Linked DNA regions of Homo sapiens: region 1 is linked to region 2. Evidence: promoter capture Hi-C in human tissues and cell types (Jung and others, 2019). All regions are on one chromosome and are shown on one strand. Each heading gives the region's core, a stretch centred on a gene start or on the middle of the fragment in contact. The rest is flanking DNA. Distances are from core to core; before and after follow the strand shown.

Region 1 (3,558 bases), core at 497-2,996, 78 kb after region 2:
TTTATTTAACCATTAAGAGTGTCTCCCCGTGTATTGGAATCGGCTAGGAAATATTCGTAATTGCTACACTTTTCTATATAAAAAGGGACTTGAAGCAGACTCAGGGCCAACACAATGTAGAATCTGTTTCTTCTAGCTTTATTTCTCCCTGTGCTGCTAGAGGTACCAAAGGGTTTGTCTCAACTGTTACTACCCCTGACATATTCCATTGATCTCTTTACTTTTCTCTGTTGTCTGTCAGTCTGTTTGTCAGACTTATCTCAAATGCCACGTTGTTTGCGCGTATTTCTCAAAGCCATCCATCAGGATACAATCTAAATCATCACAGCACATTCTGTCTTGTGACACTAAGCACAGACTGCCTGTGTTACATTTGATTGTGTGTTTCCCTTTTCTTCCACATATGTTTCAGTAGTAATTTCCTGGGCAACTTATGTGTGGCGGGCCTTGTTTGGGATCTTGGAAATAGAGAGATGAAGCTCTCCTACATAGTCTCATTTACTTCCAATTTTGCTTTCTTGATAATTGGAGTAGCCTTTTCTAGCTTGTATCCCCTGCAGTACCTGATGCATTGCCTTGCTCAGGGTAATTCATATATATTTCTGAATTCAGTTTGGAATGAAAGGAGACAAGCAGGCACTTTTGAATCAAATCTGGTGCTGCCACTATGCAACTGTATATAAATCTAACCCAACCCCTGTGCGCCAGGTTCCTTATCTGTAAAACATGGATAATAACAACCATCTTACAGGATTGTTGTAAAGTTTAAAGATGAATTGTATGAAGCCTAGCAGAGTTATTGGCACGTAGTAGGTGCTCATGAAGTAGTTGTTATTGTAAGGGAGGTTCAGTCATTCCTTTAGGTCACTTGAGTGGGCAGTGGAAGCATTTAGGATCTTAATTGTCTTTAGGGAAATGCTTACTTAGTCTGGGGGCTTCTCCGAGAAGCAGGCTCTGGGGAAGGTCTGGCTCATTGCTGATTAACTGTTCCCTTTTTAGAGTCAATGATCTGAGTCTGTGTTTTGGAACCACTTATATAATGTATACCACCTGTTATTTGTGTATTTTTAGAAGTGGGAGTCGGGTAATCCTAGTCCTGTCAGTAAAAGAGCAAACTGTTTACCAGAAGCAGAGCTTTTTTCTTAACACTGACTCACACTGACTCATCTTTCTCATTTTTCTTCCCACCGCCTCATAACAACCTTGCAAGAGAGAGAATTTTTAGGGAATCAGTTGACTTACTTTTTTGTGATTTTCCAAAGTTGAAAGCTTGAAGGTATCAGGTCATTAATTCCATCCCAGGAAAGGCTAAAGTTTATGCTGCCTCGGAGTGCCAGTATGACCAACGCCATGTAGTGAATATCTCACATAAACCCTTGTCTAGACAAACCACTTCTGTTGGCTGAGAGGTTAGACAAGTGCCTGAAGTGTACATGTTAAGAGTAAACACATTTTGCTCTTTGAAAATGGTTGCCTTAAGTTGAACCTGGAAAGTTTGCTCTTCTGAGATAGGAAACCCAAGCAGTATTAGAGTCAGAGCTGTGGTAGCTTCACAGATGGATTTCAGATAACAGAGAGGCCAGACAGCACATTAGATCAGCAAAATGGTGAAGGAAGCTTTATAGATCAGAATGACTGATATCTTTGTGCCTTCATTTAACATTCATTAAATGAACATTTACTGATCATCTGTGATATACTTGGTGCTAGGGTTATGACAGTGACTAATAAAAACATAGTGCCTGCTGTCATGGACCTTATACTCTAATGCTCGTTTATAGTAAATGCTAAGGGAACAGAGAGATGCCTTGGCCTGCATATGTGAACATGTTCCTGTGCACACGGGTGAGGGGAGGAAGGAAGGCTCCTTGGAGGAAAAGGCACCCAAGCTGAGTCTGGTGGGGTGAGTAGGCATTAACTAGGAGAAAAGGGTTAGTTAGGGGAATGTGGGGTTGGCTGAAGAGTATTACATGCTGAAATGAGCTATGAGTCTTGGGGTCGAGAGAAGAGCTTGCCCTTGGAGAAGCTGAAAAAAGTGACCAAAGGACAGTGAGAGGGAAGTTTGGCACAAAATAAATTCAGAGAAGCTAACAGTGACAGCAGAGCATTGTAGACCAGTTTATTAATTTAAAAAAAAATTTTTTTTTTTTTGAGACAGAATCTTGCTCTGTCGCCCAGGCTGGAGTGCTGTGATATGATCTCAATCTCAGTTCACTGCAACCTCTGCCTCGCAGGCTCAAGCAATTCTCGTGCCTCAGCCTTCCCAGTACCTGGGATTACAGGCACACACCACCATGCCTGGCTAATTTTTTTTTTGTATTTTTAGTAGAGACAGGGTTTCACCATGTTGGTCAGGCTGGTCTCGAACTCCGGCCTCAAGTGATTCACCCACCTCAGCCTCCCAAAGTGCTAGGATTATAAGTGTGAGCCACTGTGCAAGGCCTAAAAAATTTTTTAATCCAGATAAATTTAACATATAGTGAAATGCTCATGACAAATGCATATACCTATGTAACCAACACCCCATTTTGAGTAGGAACTTTTAACTTGGTAGTCAGAGCAAGGGGAAGGATGGGTTTTTGAGCAGGGTCCAGACTTGATGCTAATTGCTAGCTAAGAACTGGGACAAGGGTGAGGGGGTGAGGGGGTGGCAAGTACCAGTGGGGACAGAGCTGGAATAGGCAGTAGTTTGCTGGTGGGCAGGAGCTTCCAGCTTGGGGGCAAAAAACAGATTCTTGGTTTTCCTAACTTGTTTTTAGCAGAGGACAAACCTCTAAGTGCTTTGTAAGATCCAAAGTGTCTATGCAGAAGACAACAGACTGTGTTTTTTCAAAGATTTTCTGGGAAGACTTCCAGGCTACCTGCAGTTTGAAGAAAGTCTTCTGAAAAGGGCAGGGGGCGTGGGGGCACCTACAGAGACAGGATTTCCCCCAACTCGATAAGATACAGGAAAATAATCATCTTATTGATTTACTTTTGTTCTATAGTAATGTGACATTTTTTCTTTTCTGAGAGTAGGGTATTAAAAATTGTTACGGTTTTGGGTTTTACAGATTTGTTGAAGCTTAATATCATTTAAGTGTCCTATTTTAATATCTGTTTTAATATCTGTATTTTTGACAGACTGCCAGAAATCATTTAACATGTTACTGTGCTATTTTTGTTGATGTTGTCATTATTATTTTTGTTGATGTTATTCTTAAAGAAAAAAGAAAAGATACTATCGATAGAATTATCGTCAGTATTAGAAATTAAGAAATGTTTTAATTTCAATTGAAAACAAACAAGTAAACAAACATGAAAATGTATTGAGAGATGTGTGTATTCTCTACCTTTGTTTTATTCCTTTTACAAAAACTATAAGGAATAGTGCTTAACAGTGTACTGTCAAAACACTGACATCTATTTACAGGAAGTTCATTTCTGACCAGAATTGTTTGTTTGTCTCTCCAAAGCTTGCCAAATTCTATAGGTTTTATGTAAGTTTATAAATATTCTTGTAAACATTGGCTTTAAACTAAATCCTTCTAAATATCCAAACTACCATGTATCTTTCTG
Region 2 (3,911 bases), core at 891-3,390:
TTGGGTTAAGGAGAGGGGTGAATTTATTCCAATACCTAGGACAGCCTGGTTAGGACAGGGTCATCCCTCACCCTTTGCCACAAGAGCTGCCATTTGGCAGGGCGCAGGAGAATGGCTTGAGCCCAGGCAGCCTCCCAGGTGGCTGGGATTACAGGCCTGGCTAATTTTTGTATTTTTAGTAGAGACAGGGTTTCACCAGGTTGGCCAGGCTGGTCTCGAACTCCTGAACTCAGGTGATCCACCTGCCTTGGCTTCTCAAAGTGCTGAGATTATAGGCATGAGCCACCACATCCGGCTGTTTTGGGGGGTTTTCTTTTTGAGACAGAGTCTCGCTCTGTCGCCCAGGCTGGAGGGCAGTGGCATGATCTCGGCTCACTGCAACCTCTGCCTCCTGGGTTCAAGTGATTCTCCTGCCTCAGGCTCCCGCATAGTTGGGTGTGACAGCCGGAAGTGGGGGCCTCGGATTACAGGCGTGTGCCACCACGCCCAACTAATTTTTGTATTTTTAGTAGAGACAGGGTTTCACCATGTTGGCTGGGGTGGTCTCATCATACTCCTGATCTCAAGTGATCCACCTGCTTCAGCCTCCCAAAGTGCTGGGATTCCAGGCGTGAGCCACTGCACCCGGCCTTACCTTACGTTTTAAAAGATCTCACAGATGTGATTAATGTAAGGATCTTGAGATGGTAAGATTATCCTGGATTATCTGGCTGAGCCCAATGTAATCCCAAGAGTCCTTATAAGAAGAGGGAAGCAGGAGGATCAGTCAGTAGTAGAGGTGACAACAGAAGCCAGAGGTTGAGGTGATTTGAAGAAGGGGCCATAAGCTAAGGAATGCAGGTGGCCTCTACAAACTGTAAAAGGAAAGGAACTGATGCTTCCTCCAAATCCCCAAAAGAATGCAGCCTTGCCAACACCTTGATTTTAGACTTTTGACCTAGAGAACTGCAAGAGAATATATCTGTGTTGTTTCAATCCATGAAGTTTGCAGTAATTCCTTGTAACAGTAACAGGAAAATAATACATAGATTTAGCAAACAAAACAAAATCCAGGATGCCCAGTAGTCATATTTGAATTTCCTATAAACAACAATTTTTAAAGTATAAATGTGTCCCAAATGTTGCATAGGACACACTTATCTGTGTGTATGTGTGTGTGTGTTTGGAAAGGAACATGCTTAAATGTTTATCTGAAATTCAAACTGTAGTGAATGTTATATATTTTGTCTGTCAATCTTAGAAGTGATGAAACTGAGAGCAGGAGTCAAAACTCATGATTCCCAGGTCGCCTCCATACTGCTGCCCCCTGCCCCTCAATCTGGCAGAAACTGCCACGTTCTTGTGGCCCTCATGGGTCACTTCCCATCTTCTTGGGACTCCTCTTGCCCCTGGGGTAGGAAAATGAAAAGACTGTTTAAGGTCGTTTCTTTAGGCTCAGAGTTCTCCTGGACCACCAGAGGTTCTGCCTCAGAGGGACCTAGGAGATTTGCCTCAAAGTTGCAGTTGCACAAAATACTTGCGGGCGGATCTTAATGGACTGGGGTGGGAGTTAGTAAAGCCTTTGTCTGGAGGGAACGTAATGAACCCCAAAGCAGGAAAAAAGTAATTATTGAATCAGGCTCCAGAGCAAGAATCAGGTTTCAGGTAAGGAAACGGAAGCACAAGAAGGAATGGGGACTTGCTCCAGGTCACTCAGTTAATGACAGACAGATGTCCCCTGGTTTGGAGTCTCCCTTTTTGGAGCAGCTAGTCCTGATAGCAGCCATAGTGGGGGGAAGTCTAGAATGCTAATCCTGAGGTCCGGGTTTGAAGCCCTTTACTGCCTTGATTGCCAGTTTCCCTTTCCTGAAATAGGGGAATTGCATAAATATGAGGAGTTAATGAGATCATGGATGTTAAACAACAGGTACATGTTAGCATGTTCTTGGAAAATGGCAGCTTCTTTCCTTCCTTCTCTGAGCCTCAGTTTCCCCATCTATAAGCCGGGTTTGACAAGCGGCTGGTGCCCCAGCTCCTCCCAGCCACTCCAGGTCCGCAGCTCGGAGCTCCGGCAGCCAGGTGGGGACTGAACACCAACGCCGCGGGGAGGCGTCGCACATGCGCGCTCCTAGGCGGAGCCCCGCCTCCCACGCCCTGGATCGTCACTTCCGGCGCGAGAGGCCGGGCAGGCCGGGCAGGGAGTGCGGGTCGGTTCTGCGTGCGCTGCCGGACGAGGCTCCCGCCGCCGATTGACCCGCGCTCCGCCCGTAGTCGGGCCGGTGAGTGCCCGCGAGCCCATCCGTGTGCCCTGGGAGCTGAGGAGAGGGACCCCTGAGAGGGAAGGATAACCGGAAGTGGGGACCAGAGGAGCGAGAGACCCCAGGAAATGGGGACACCTGGGGAGGGGGTGACAGCCGGAAGTGGGGGCCTCGGAAGGTTGTCCACGGGATATGGGGTCTCGGGGGCTCTAGGAGAGATGGCTTCCTGACCTCTCCTTGTTGAGAGGAAGGGGTGGAAAGGAAAGTGATGCTCCAGAAAGGATGGGCTCCAGGTGGGGGAGATCTTTGGCTTCACCGTTACCAATGGTGTCTGCATCTCACTCATATGTCCGCCTGTCAGCTCATTCACCAGCCTGTGACTGAGTCCTGCTGAGCGCTCGGCACTGCTGAGTCCCTGGAGAGTCAACATGAAGCTCCAGGTGGAGGGTACAGATTAGAAGCCCAGGGTGGGGCTAGACGCATCCTTGCTCTGCCTCACCGGGTGTGCCCCCTTGGGCGAATCGCTTAACCTATATCCTCCGCTGATGTGTACAGACCACTGCCATGTGCCCGGCACTGGGGGTGGCAGTGGACATGGCAGACAAGCCCTCTGCCCTCGTGGAACTTAGATTCTAGGGGACAGTCCTTTTTGTCCTCCTTTGTAAAATGGCAACAGTAATAGCGCTCTCACCAAATAACGTGAAGATTAAATGAGGAAATGGGTAAAGGGCTTAGCAATGCTTGATACATGGTAAAATGCTCAAGTATGCATTCTCTTCATTCCACTATAATGTAAGCTTTATTAGGCAAGGAATTGTATTGTTTGCGTCTGTGTTCCCAGTGCCTGTGAGCACAGTGCCTGACATATATGGTAGGTGATCGGTAATTATTTGATAAATGAGTGCGTGGTGAAACTGACTCTAGATAAATGCCCATAGCATTGGACTGTAATTTCTAAAAAAGAAATAGGAACCCAGTTCTGTGGAAAACTGGAGGGAATCACCCTCAGGGAGTTTGGGAAGGATTCACTGAGGTGGTGACATGGCAGCTGAGCCTGAGCTGTCAAGTTAGGAACAAATTAGAAGAGGAAATTCCAGGCAGAGTGTATCAGAAGTGCACGAGTTATTCCAAGGATGATGGGTTATTAGTTTGTTTTGACTGGCATTTAATGTGCATCAAGGTGGGGTGCGATGGAAAATGAGGCTGGAGAGGGGCTTTGAGGTGAGGCTTGTACCTTGTGAACACTGATGTTTGATGGGATTGCAGGCATCTCTTGGTTACTTCCATAGAAACAAAGCCATAGTTGTTCCATTCCTCACTTAGCATACCTGTGCCAACCAGACTAAAGTCATTCAACAAATATTTATGGAGTGCAGATTATGTGTCTAACACCATGTTAGGCGCTGGGTTTCAGGTGATGAACAAGACAAACTTGGATGTTGCTCACAAATTGCCAACAGACAATTGCAACAGGGTGGGAGAAGTGCGGGGGAGGCACCTAACCTGGCTGGGGGTCAGTGAAGGCTACCTACTCCAGGCCACCAGCATCTCTCAGCTGGATTATTGCAATAGCCTCTAAATGGTCTGCTTCAGTCCTCACTCCCTTAGAGTCCATTCTCAAGACAGCAGATTGGTCCTTTTAAAATATATTTTTATTTATTTATCTATCTATCT

What was found. The method cuts DNA at HindIII sites, captures the fragments that hold promoters and counts their contacts. A contact is called where the count stands out against the background at its distance.
Region 1: a contact is called between a fragment that was not itself captured here and the fragment with the promoter of TTPAL in region 2, in 2 of the 25 tissues and cell types used here (adrenal gland and bladder).

Annotation. Positions count from the first base shown.
Region 1 is chr20:44,551,939-44,555,496 of GRCh38, forward strand. It overlaps a transcript of PKIG not described here. Among named protein-coding and RNA genes, the nearest start is that of PKIG, 29 kb to the right of the region's middle. The HindIII fragment of the contact is 3,026 bases long and covers 234-3,259 here.
Region 2 is chr20:44,473,734-44,477,644 of GRCh38, forward strand. TTPAL (alpha tocopherol transfer protein like) reads left to right here and starts at 2,141. Exons shown (of 5, transcript NM_001039199.3): 1 at 2,141-2,258. RefSeq lists an enhancer at 1,937-2,026 and a silencer at 2,117-2,246. The HindIII fragment of the contact is 17,873 bases long and covers 1-3,911 here.